Linked DNA regions of Homo sapiens: regions 1 and 3 are each linked to region 2. The links are contacts of gene promoters, found by promoter capture Hi-C in blood cells and fetal thymus (Javierre and others, 2016). All regions are on one chromosome and are shown on one strand. Each heading gives the region's core, a stretch centred on a gene start or on the middle of the fragment in contact. The rest is flanking DNA. Distances are from core to core; before and after follow the strand shown.

What was found. The method cuts DNA at HindIII sites, captures the fragments that hold promoters and counts their contacts. A CHiCAGO score of 5 or more calls a contact.
Region 1: a fragment that was not itself captured here is called in contact with the fragment with the promoter of ZSCAN30 in region 2 in 1 of 17 cell types (total CD4 T cells); the score reaches 5.8 in total CD4 T cells.
Region 3: a contact is called between a fragment that was not itself captured here and the fragment with the promoter of ZSCAN30 in region 2, in 1 of 17 cell types (naive CD4 T cells). The highest score is 5.4, in naive CD4 T cells.

What each region holds. Positions count from the first base shown.
Region 1 is chr18:36,030,621-36,033,680 of GRCh38, forward strand. It overlaps RPRD1A (regulation of nuclear pre-mRNA domain containing 1A), which reads right to left. Exons shown (of 7, transcript NM_018170.5): 3 at 371-477; 4 at 188-285. Among named protein-coding and RNA genes, the nearest start is that of RPRD1A, 35 kb to the right of the region's middle. The HindIII fragment of the contact is 3,070 bases long and covers 129-3,060 here.
Region 2 is chr18:35,288,582-35,291,487 of GRCh38, forward strand. It overlaps ZSCAN30 (zinc finger and SCAN domain containing 30), which reads right to left and starts at 1,648. Exons shown (of 4, transcript NM_001112734.4): 1 at 1,503-1,648. It also overlaps the pseudogene ZNF271P. RefSeq lists an enhancer at 1,765-1,924. The HindIII fragment of the contact is 2,453 bases long and covers 92-2,544 here.
Region 3 is chr18:35,946,352-35,949,331 of GRCh38, forward strand. No RefSeq gene overlaps it. Among named protein-coding and RNA genes, the nearest start is that of MIR3929, 14 kb to the left of the region's middle. The HindIII fragment of the contact is 833 bases long and covers 994-1,826 here.

The sequences.
Region 1 (3,060 bases), core at 414-2,913, 740 kb after region 2:
TACAATATACAACATACTACATTTAACATAAGCAATTTGTTAATGAGGAAGAGATATTCATGTGGCTTCTTTCTTGTACCTAAAAGTATAATAGAAATCAATTTACAGAAGTGAAACGAAATTAATAAAGCTTGGTGGCAACATGAAGTAAAAGTTTGTAACTCTTTTAACAGGGTAAAATTTCTACCTGTGGTGGTTCACTTGGAGATCCCAGAGAGGAACAGTTTTCATTTTCATCCACCTTTATCTGTTCATAAGTTCGCTTCCTAGGCTTCTTATCACCATCTGAAATGAAAGAACATTTAAGTATTAATGAAAGAATACATTTTAATGAAGAGATCAAGGTAAGAGATCAGGATTCTACACTTACACAGAGCTTGTTTAAGTTGTTCTAATACATCATTTTCATAAACAGACCTTTCTTCCCAAATAGATAACACTCTTCCAAGGTGCTTCTTACAACTTTCATCAGTTTCACTAAAAAAAAAAAAAAAGAAAAAAAGAAAAATGTTAACAGTAACAATGCATAGTGTTATTGAAAAGGTTAACGGTAACTTTAAATATAATCAGACATTCATTCCCTGGAAAAAACTGTCCAAATGTCTACTTAGCATCACTATGTGGCCAGCAGCTCAAAAGTGAAGTGATCTAGACACACTGCTTGCTTCTAGTAAACATTTTATAAACATATTATTACACAACCAAAAAAAGTTTAAACTGTAAAAGTTTTAGTACTGGCTGCTAGGGATTTCCTATCCTAATGGGGCCTGGACATGGGGCTAAGGAAGATTTCTCATAGGTTATTTTTTTAAATTTATTCAACAAATACTTATTGATCCAGTTACTATCTTTGACATGGAGATGCAAATGCAGCTTATGGCAGTTGTTATTTATAAGTATCACAAAAGAGAACAAAGTGCTTAAGACAGACCTGGCCCTGTTTAAGAGATATCCGGAAGAGTATTTAAGGAAATGATATTTAATTTGAGATCTTAAGACTAGACATATGGGGAAATGAAAAACAGACTACTCCCAACTGTTTCCTACCTCCTTCATTGCTATCACTGTAGACAGAAACACTACTATCTCTTGCTTAGAATTTTGTAAAGTCTTCTCACGCTCTCCCAGCCTCTACTCTTTTACTCTATTCTGTACAAAGCATCCTAATAATGTAAATCAGATTATACAGCTCTTGATCCTCCAAGAGCTACCAATCACATCAAGAATAAAACCAAAATCCTTACTCTGGGCCATAAGGCCCACATGCTCTGCTTTCTGGCAGTCCCTCAGTACACACTCCCTAATACCTAGTACCATACAAATCTCCTTGCTAAGGTCCTCAAACATGTCCAGCATATAAGCTATCTCATTTTTTCGGCCACATATTCTCTCTACCTAGAATCCTTTCTGCCTAGTCAAATGGCTCATTTCACCCCTTCCTTTAGTCTTTGTTCAAATGCCACCTTCCCCAAATAGTTGTTCTTTATCTCATCACATAACTGAGCGCCCTCATACTATCTAGTTCCTTCCCTGCTTTGTATTTCTTGCTAGCATTTGTCATCTGACATTATGCATTCACTTGTCTATCTACTTATTAACTTTGTCATCCAATGAAATGTAGGCTCCAGTAGAACAAAACTGTCTTGGTCACTACTACTCAGGGTTTTGCATATAATAAATATTTATGCAGCCAATAAATATTTTACTGAATTCTAGGGAGGGGCAACATATATAGAAGACTTAAGGCGGAAAGAACTAAAAAAGGTTAATTTAGCTTAAACTGTAGACTATAGACTGTGTGGAATAAATGCGAGACAGAGGTCTGGGGAGATAGGCAGTGCCACGAAGGAACACCTTAAGTCTTGCTCAGGACTTTAGACTTCATCTCTAAAACAAATGGGAACCACTCAAAGGCAAGGAAGTATTATGACCAGCTCTGCAACTCTGTCGAGTTTTCTAAAGAAATTAAACAATACTAAAGGGCATTAAAATTATACTGAAAATACATTATGGTAACTAAAAGGGAAAGAAATCCAAAGAACCGAGTCAATGTGTACTATGTGAGATATGGGGACTGAAGGAGAAAGAAGAGTTTAAAGGTAACATAATTTCTTGCATAGGCACCTGGATAGATCGAGTTGCCATTCACAGAGTATAAAACCTACAGGAGGGACAAGTACGGTGGGAAGCAAGGACATAATGAGTTCTGTATCAGACACAGTGAGTCTGAAATGTTTGAGACGCATACAAGTAAAAATGTCAAAAGGCAATTGGGCACACAGGTTTGGAACAAAAAAAAATCTGGACTGGAGCATAAAACTGTAAGTCATTACGGTGTGGAGAATAACCAAATACATGCGATGTACAAAATTACCCAGAGGGCAAGTAAAGAATGGAAACAGGCCAGACATGGTGGCTCACGTTTGTAATCCCAGCACTTTGGGAGGCCGAGGCAGGTGGATCACGAGGTCAGGAGTTCAAGACCAGCCTGGCCAAGATGGTGAAACCTTGTCTCTACTAAAAACACAAAAATTAGCCAGGCATGGTGGCAGGCACCTGTAATTCCAGCTACTTGCGAGGCTGAAGTAGGAGAATCGCTTGAACCCAAGCGGCAGAGGTTGCAGTGAGCCAAGATCGCACCACTGTACTCCAGCCTGGGTGAGAGTGAGACTCTGTCTCAAAAAAAAAAAAAAAAAAAAAAAAAAGAATAGAAACAGTACTAAGTGTATATGGAAATATTTGTTACAAGACTGATAGCTTTATAAACACACAAATTTTTACTTCAATACCTTCATTCATTTTTAATGAAGTTCATTCCAATATAGCAGTTGGTTCTGGTCTCTTAAAGGAAAGCTGTAATTCAAGTACTCCAAAGGCCCACCTTAGCAACAGTTCAAAAAATATTTTTCCTTCAGAGAAGGCATTTAATACATTTATAAATGCCATGTAGAGGGAAGTCTTTTCAAATAAAAGCATCAAAAAACTATATTCCCTACTTTTTATTTTAATAGTTTAAGGCAAATTTTAGCAAAAGGACATATGGTACATTTAAAACAGATT
Region 2 (2,906 bases), core at 398-2,897:
AAACTGTGGTATATACATACAATGGAATATTATTCAGCAACAAAAATTAACTATTGATACACACAGCAATAAAGATAAATCTCAAAATAAAAGCTTAGTGAAACAACTCTGACAAAAACAAGGACATTCTGTATGATTCCATTTAAATAAATATCTAGAAAATGCAAACTAATCTCTAGTAACAGCTGACCAGTGGAGGGGGCATTGGGAGAGAGGCTTACCAACGGGCAGGAGGAAACTTTTGGGGTTTAGATGTAATAAACATATTATTTTGATTGCAGTGATAGTTCCACAGCTGTATTCATTTAACAAGCCTTATCAAATTATATCCTTTAAATATTTGCTGTTTATGTCAGTTATACCTCAATAAAGCTGTTTTGTTTTGTTTTGTTTTGTTTTGTTTTGAGACAAAGTCTCGCTTTGTCACCCAGGCTGGAGTGCAGTGGCGCAATCTCGGCTCACTGCAACCTCCGCCTCCTGGGTTCATGGGTTCACGCGATTCTCCTGACTCGGCCTCCCAAGTAGCTGGGATTAAAGGCGCACACCACCATGCCCAGCTAATTTTTGTATTTGTAGTAGAGACAGGGTTTCACCTTGTTGGCCAGGCTGGTCTCCAACTCCTGATCTCAGGTGATCCACCTGCCTCAACCTCCCAAAGTTTTAGGATTACAGGCCTAAGCTGCGCCTGGCCAAAAAGAAAGCTGTTTTTTTAAAACTATCTGCACTCCCTACTTGGGAGGGTTGGACTCAAGTTCCCACATCTCTTTCCTCTTACGGTTATATTAAGGGCTTAGTCATACATCCCTAAATTTCATATATCCCAACAGGGACTTGGGCTGGGACAGGAAGCCCTCTTCCTCCACCTCAACTACCACTTAGCCACCCACCATTTTCTCAAACCTCTTCCTTTCCCCACCGGACAGCTTAAACCAAGTCACACGTCTCATTGGTCTCAACAGAAATGAGGTCCCAACTCCTCATTTCCCAAGATATTTCCATGAACACAGCAATATCCTTTCCTACCCTGATTACCCCGCACCCTCCATTTCGGGTCCTTCTCACCCTGATCAGTGAGAATTGTTCTAGCAAGCAAACCTTAAATAGACCTCGTACCCTTTCTAGATTGCAAAGTAGATAAAAATCCAACTTTCCGTTAATTCAGGGATTAATTACTGAGCATCACTTATTTCTTGGGCAGTGGTTCTCAAAATGTGGTCCCAGGACCAACAGCTTCAGGATCACCTGAGAACCTGGGCTGCCACCGCCCCCTCCCCCACTACTAAATCAGCAACTCCGGAGTTGTGGGGCAGAAGTCAGTATTTTAACAAGGCCTCCAGGTGATTCTGATGCGCGCTACTCTTCTGGGGGTGTGAAAAACCAGAGAGGACAGGAAGAAAGTTAGAATTAAAGCATACCTACGAATCAGATAAGCGATAGGGGGAGGGGTGGTTATTTAAAAAACGATAACTAATTAAGAACTTGTATGTAGTAAGAAAACCTACCCTGCCCCAGAGAGCTTTCCCGAAAGATAATGGATTCCGACATTCACCTCAAGAACCGGCAGACAGAGCAGCAAAGGATCTGTCGCTGGCCAAGCAGGTCCCTGGCTAAGGCACTGCTAGGGACAGCTCGCGGCGGTTCGGGGGTTAATTCTCGGCAGCCCTCCGTCACCCGGTGCCCCACCCCCGCCCTGCGCCTGCGCGGTGAAGCGCCATAGAGCTGAGCACTCCTCCCAGATTCCTAGAGCGGACAGGGCGATGGCAGGTTCGCCGGGTGTGAGGCTTCACAGCGGTCCGGTGACCAAGTCGAGGTAAGGGTGATGTCGGCTCGCGGATAGCAGAGGAGTTCCGGGTGATCTTGCCTAACGAGCAGGAAACTGTGCATGGTTTCTCGAGTCCTTGGAGAGTGAAGGCCCCCGGGGTCGCTCCCGGGCACGGAGAGACGATTGGTTCACGGCCTAGTGTTCGGTTTGTTCCCAGTCAGCCCTTGCTGGCCTTGGGTTCAACCGAATGAACGCCAGAAACTCTGTGGGGTGGGGGGAGTCACCAACCGTGGTGCATCCATACGAATCAGCCTACCGTACTGGGAAAGAGCCACCTGAATTTGTGAATGTTGTAAAAGCAAAAGGAAGAAAAATGATCAGTAGTGTCATTTTTGGATAGGAAGGGCAGCGAATAACATAGTGTTAACCACTAGAATTCACTGTAAAATTCCCCTCTCTGCGTTATCTTTCCAGTTATACCTTTTTTTGGTAGCATTAACCCCTAATTTTGTTTGAACATCTCTAGACTTGGAATGGGGAATGTGTGTCTTAAGTGGGTTAATCCCTGGCTCTTGGATGATGGGGAGGAAGCCTAATACATTCTGAGAGAAAAGCAACTGGAAGTCAAATGAGATTTTTTGTTTTCTCCTTCTTTTATATCTTGAGGATTTTTCTGGTGGTCTAGTCTCAGAGATTACATCTGTAGTCAGCACAATGATTCCCTTCCAAGCCCAGTGGTGCCCAGTTGCCTCCAGGTCCCAGACCTTTATGTGGACAAGAAAAGCTTACAGAGGAAATGGTAATTCTCCACTTGCACACTGAGGTGTCCAGTTGCAGCCCATGGAGATCCAGTTCAATTATGAATCTCAGGAACACCACCTTCTGTCAGGTGAGAGGCAGGGTATTATATCTTTCTTAGTGGCTTTGGCGGGGTGGGGAGGATGAGGGGGTGTCACTCTATGCTAGTGTCTTCAAATGATCCCCCTTAACTCTGTTAGGCAGTATTACCTCTTTAGTGTACCAAGCATAGTCACATGACTTTATTTCAAAATCTGGCGATCAAATTCTCATGCAGCTCTCTCCACTTTTTTAAGACCCCAAAGTCATTCATTTTTCCCTGTATAATGACCTCATTGCTAATCTG
Region 3 (2,980 bases), core at 160-2,659, 660 kb after region 2:
CAGAGATGACCTTTGCGTGACCTCACTGGACATTGGAGCGATACAATTCGACTTCCTCTCTGAGAACAGGAGTTAGGCTACCTGGCAGCAGCCAGGAGCTGGGAGCTCACAGTGTGCACAGAGTGGGGCCTGAGGTCACCCAGGCACAGAAACTGTGAGGCAGCAAGCTTCAGAGCAGAGGAAGGGCAGAGGCAGGACACAAAAGCACAGCCTCTGTGGGTGGCCCAGTCCCATTAATGCCAAAGCATGAGAGTAACAATCCCACAGGACCCTGCTTCTGGGGTCCCAGAGATGCCTTTTCTGTCCCAAGATGCCATCTTGTGATTAGTGACTGTGGCCAACTGTTATCACTCCTCCCCATCCCAGACAGCCATCCCCTTCCTCTGTAGTAAAAAACTCATAACATGTCTAGTATGGCAAAGAGCCCAATTAATGAACTTCACTTCTTGACCATCTGGTATTTGGAGGCGGAGAGCCAATTAATTGTGTTTCGGCACAATTCAGCAATGATTTACTATTTCTGATCATTTCTATAAGTTGACAGGGCTCAACTGGGTGGTTCTTGCATCCCACATGGTATCAAGTGGAGTTTGACTGGGACTGGTACACTCAAGATGGCTTCATACACGTGACTTATGCCTCAACTGGGGTACTTGGAATAGCTGGGGACTGGCTAGGCCTCTCTTCACATAGTTGTTCATTATTCAATAGTTTACTCTGGGCCAGCTGTGGTGGCTCACACCTGTAATCCCAGCACTTTGGGAGGCCGAGGTGGGTGGATCACTTGAGCCAAGGAGTTCAAGACCAACCTGGGCAAAATGGCGAAACCCTGTCTCTACAAAAAATTAGCTGAGTATGGTAAAGTGCACCTGTAGTCCCAGCTACTATCGAAGCTGAGGTGGGAGGATCACCTGAGCCTGGGAGGTTGAGGCTGCAGTAAGCTGTGTTCACACCATTGTATTCCAGATATATATATATATATATTCTAGTCTAAGCTTCTTTACATGGCAGCTGGATCCCAAGAGGGTAAACAGAAGCAGCAAAGCCTAGCAAGGCCTTCCAATACATTCTATTGGTCAAAGCAAGTCATAGGGCCAGCCCTGACTAAAGGAGAAGAGAAACAGACTATACCTCTTGACAGGAAAAAATGACTTAAGCCTACAAAAATTATTGGCAGCCATCTTTGCAGACATTCTACCACAAAATTTAAATGGAAGTTGTTAAATTGTATTCAGCTACCTTCTCCCTTTCTTCCTACTTCCTGCCTAGAACATGAGTGTCATGACTAGAACTTCAGCAGTCATCTTGCAACCACCAGGCAGCCTGAAAGATGAGAACTACACACTGAGGATAGCAGAGAAGAAAGAGAGGAGTCCAGGTTCCTGATGAGCTAGGGGAGCTGCCACACCCACCAAGGACTGCCTATTTACAGAGTGTTTACACATTGGAAAAAATATAAAGCTCTACCTTACTTACATAATGATTATTTGGTTTGTCCATCATACAAAACACAGTGGGCACAGGCTAAAATGTGAACAACTAACAGAAGGAATTTCATAGCCCATAATGCAACATTTGCTGATGCGTTGTATTTTTTAAGAATATAACGAGAAGCACATACTCTGATTAAATTGCTAAGTTCCATTACAGTCTTATAAAATATATTACAGCAAGCCTCAAGCTAAAGGCTTATTGGCAAGTACCTTGCCTCTGAGGTACAAGGAATCCGTTCCTGGGGGCTTATGAGAAAATGTTAGGGGGCTCCTTAATAATTCTGTACAAACACTGCTTGAGAAAATACTATTAATGCCTTTCCGCCAAAACTAAGCTTGAGTACTTTTTCTAAACTCCTCACCGTTTAAGAAGAAATAGCATGCAAAGTTCAAATGAGGTCATCATATCCACCCCCTCCTGCCTCCCACCTAGTTTTTTCATTCAGCAATCAATCCCTCCCCAACAATTGAGGTTCAGTTGCTGTGTCTGATTCATGGAAGAATAACCTGTCTTTTCCTCCCCCTTCCAAATTTTTTAAAACACCAAGCAGTATAGGCAAGTTTTTGTTTGTTTGGCTGGTTGGTTGGGTTTTTTTTGAGACGGAGTTTGGCTCTTGTCACCCAGGCTGGAGTGCAACTGCACGATCTCGACTCACTGCAACCTCTGCCTCCCGGGTTCAAGTGATTCTCCTACCTCAGCCTCCCAAGTAGATGGGATTACAGGTATGTGCCACCACGCCCAGTTAATTTTTGTATTTTTAGTAGAGACGGGGTTTCACCATGTTGGCCAGGATGGTCTCAATCTCTTGACCTCGTGATCCACCCGCCTCGGGCTCCCAAAGCGCTGGGATTACAGGCATAAGCCACCGCGCCCGGCCGGCAAGTTTTAAACCACAAGAATAAGATGTCTTTTCACAGGTGTGCAGAGAAGGACCCCAGAACTGGGTAAATTGAGAAGTGGGACACACAGGTTTTGCAGGCCTGACTCGGACACACAGGTGTGAGCCTGCAACAACAAACAGCTCCTCAACCCTCAAGTACAAGAACAGGGGAAAGAGTGGCATTCTATATTTTTTTGAAAACTAGCTGAACTTGGTCTGCTCTTATTTTACCATTTTCATGTATGGTTTTGCAAATGTTTTACTTGACTTTAGCCTATATTTCAAATTATCGGAATGTTTTATATTCCCATCTATTTTAAACTAGTAATTACCTGTCTAAAACAAATGGACACCTTCTTGAAATAAATGTAATTAGATTATTACTGATACACACAGTATTATTGAGACTAAAAGTAAATAATTTACTGCTTGAACCCGGGAGGCGGAGGTTGCAGTGAGCCGAGATCAAGCCACTACCCTCCAGCCTGGGCAACAGAGTGAGGCTCCGTCTCAAAAAAAAAAAAGAGTAAATAACTTACTGTACTGTTTTGCAACACCTTAGCCCTACAGTCTAATCATTTACACAAAGCATTTTTCTAGAGATTC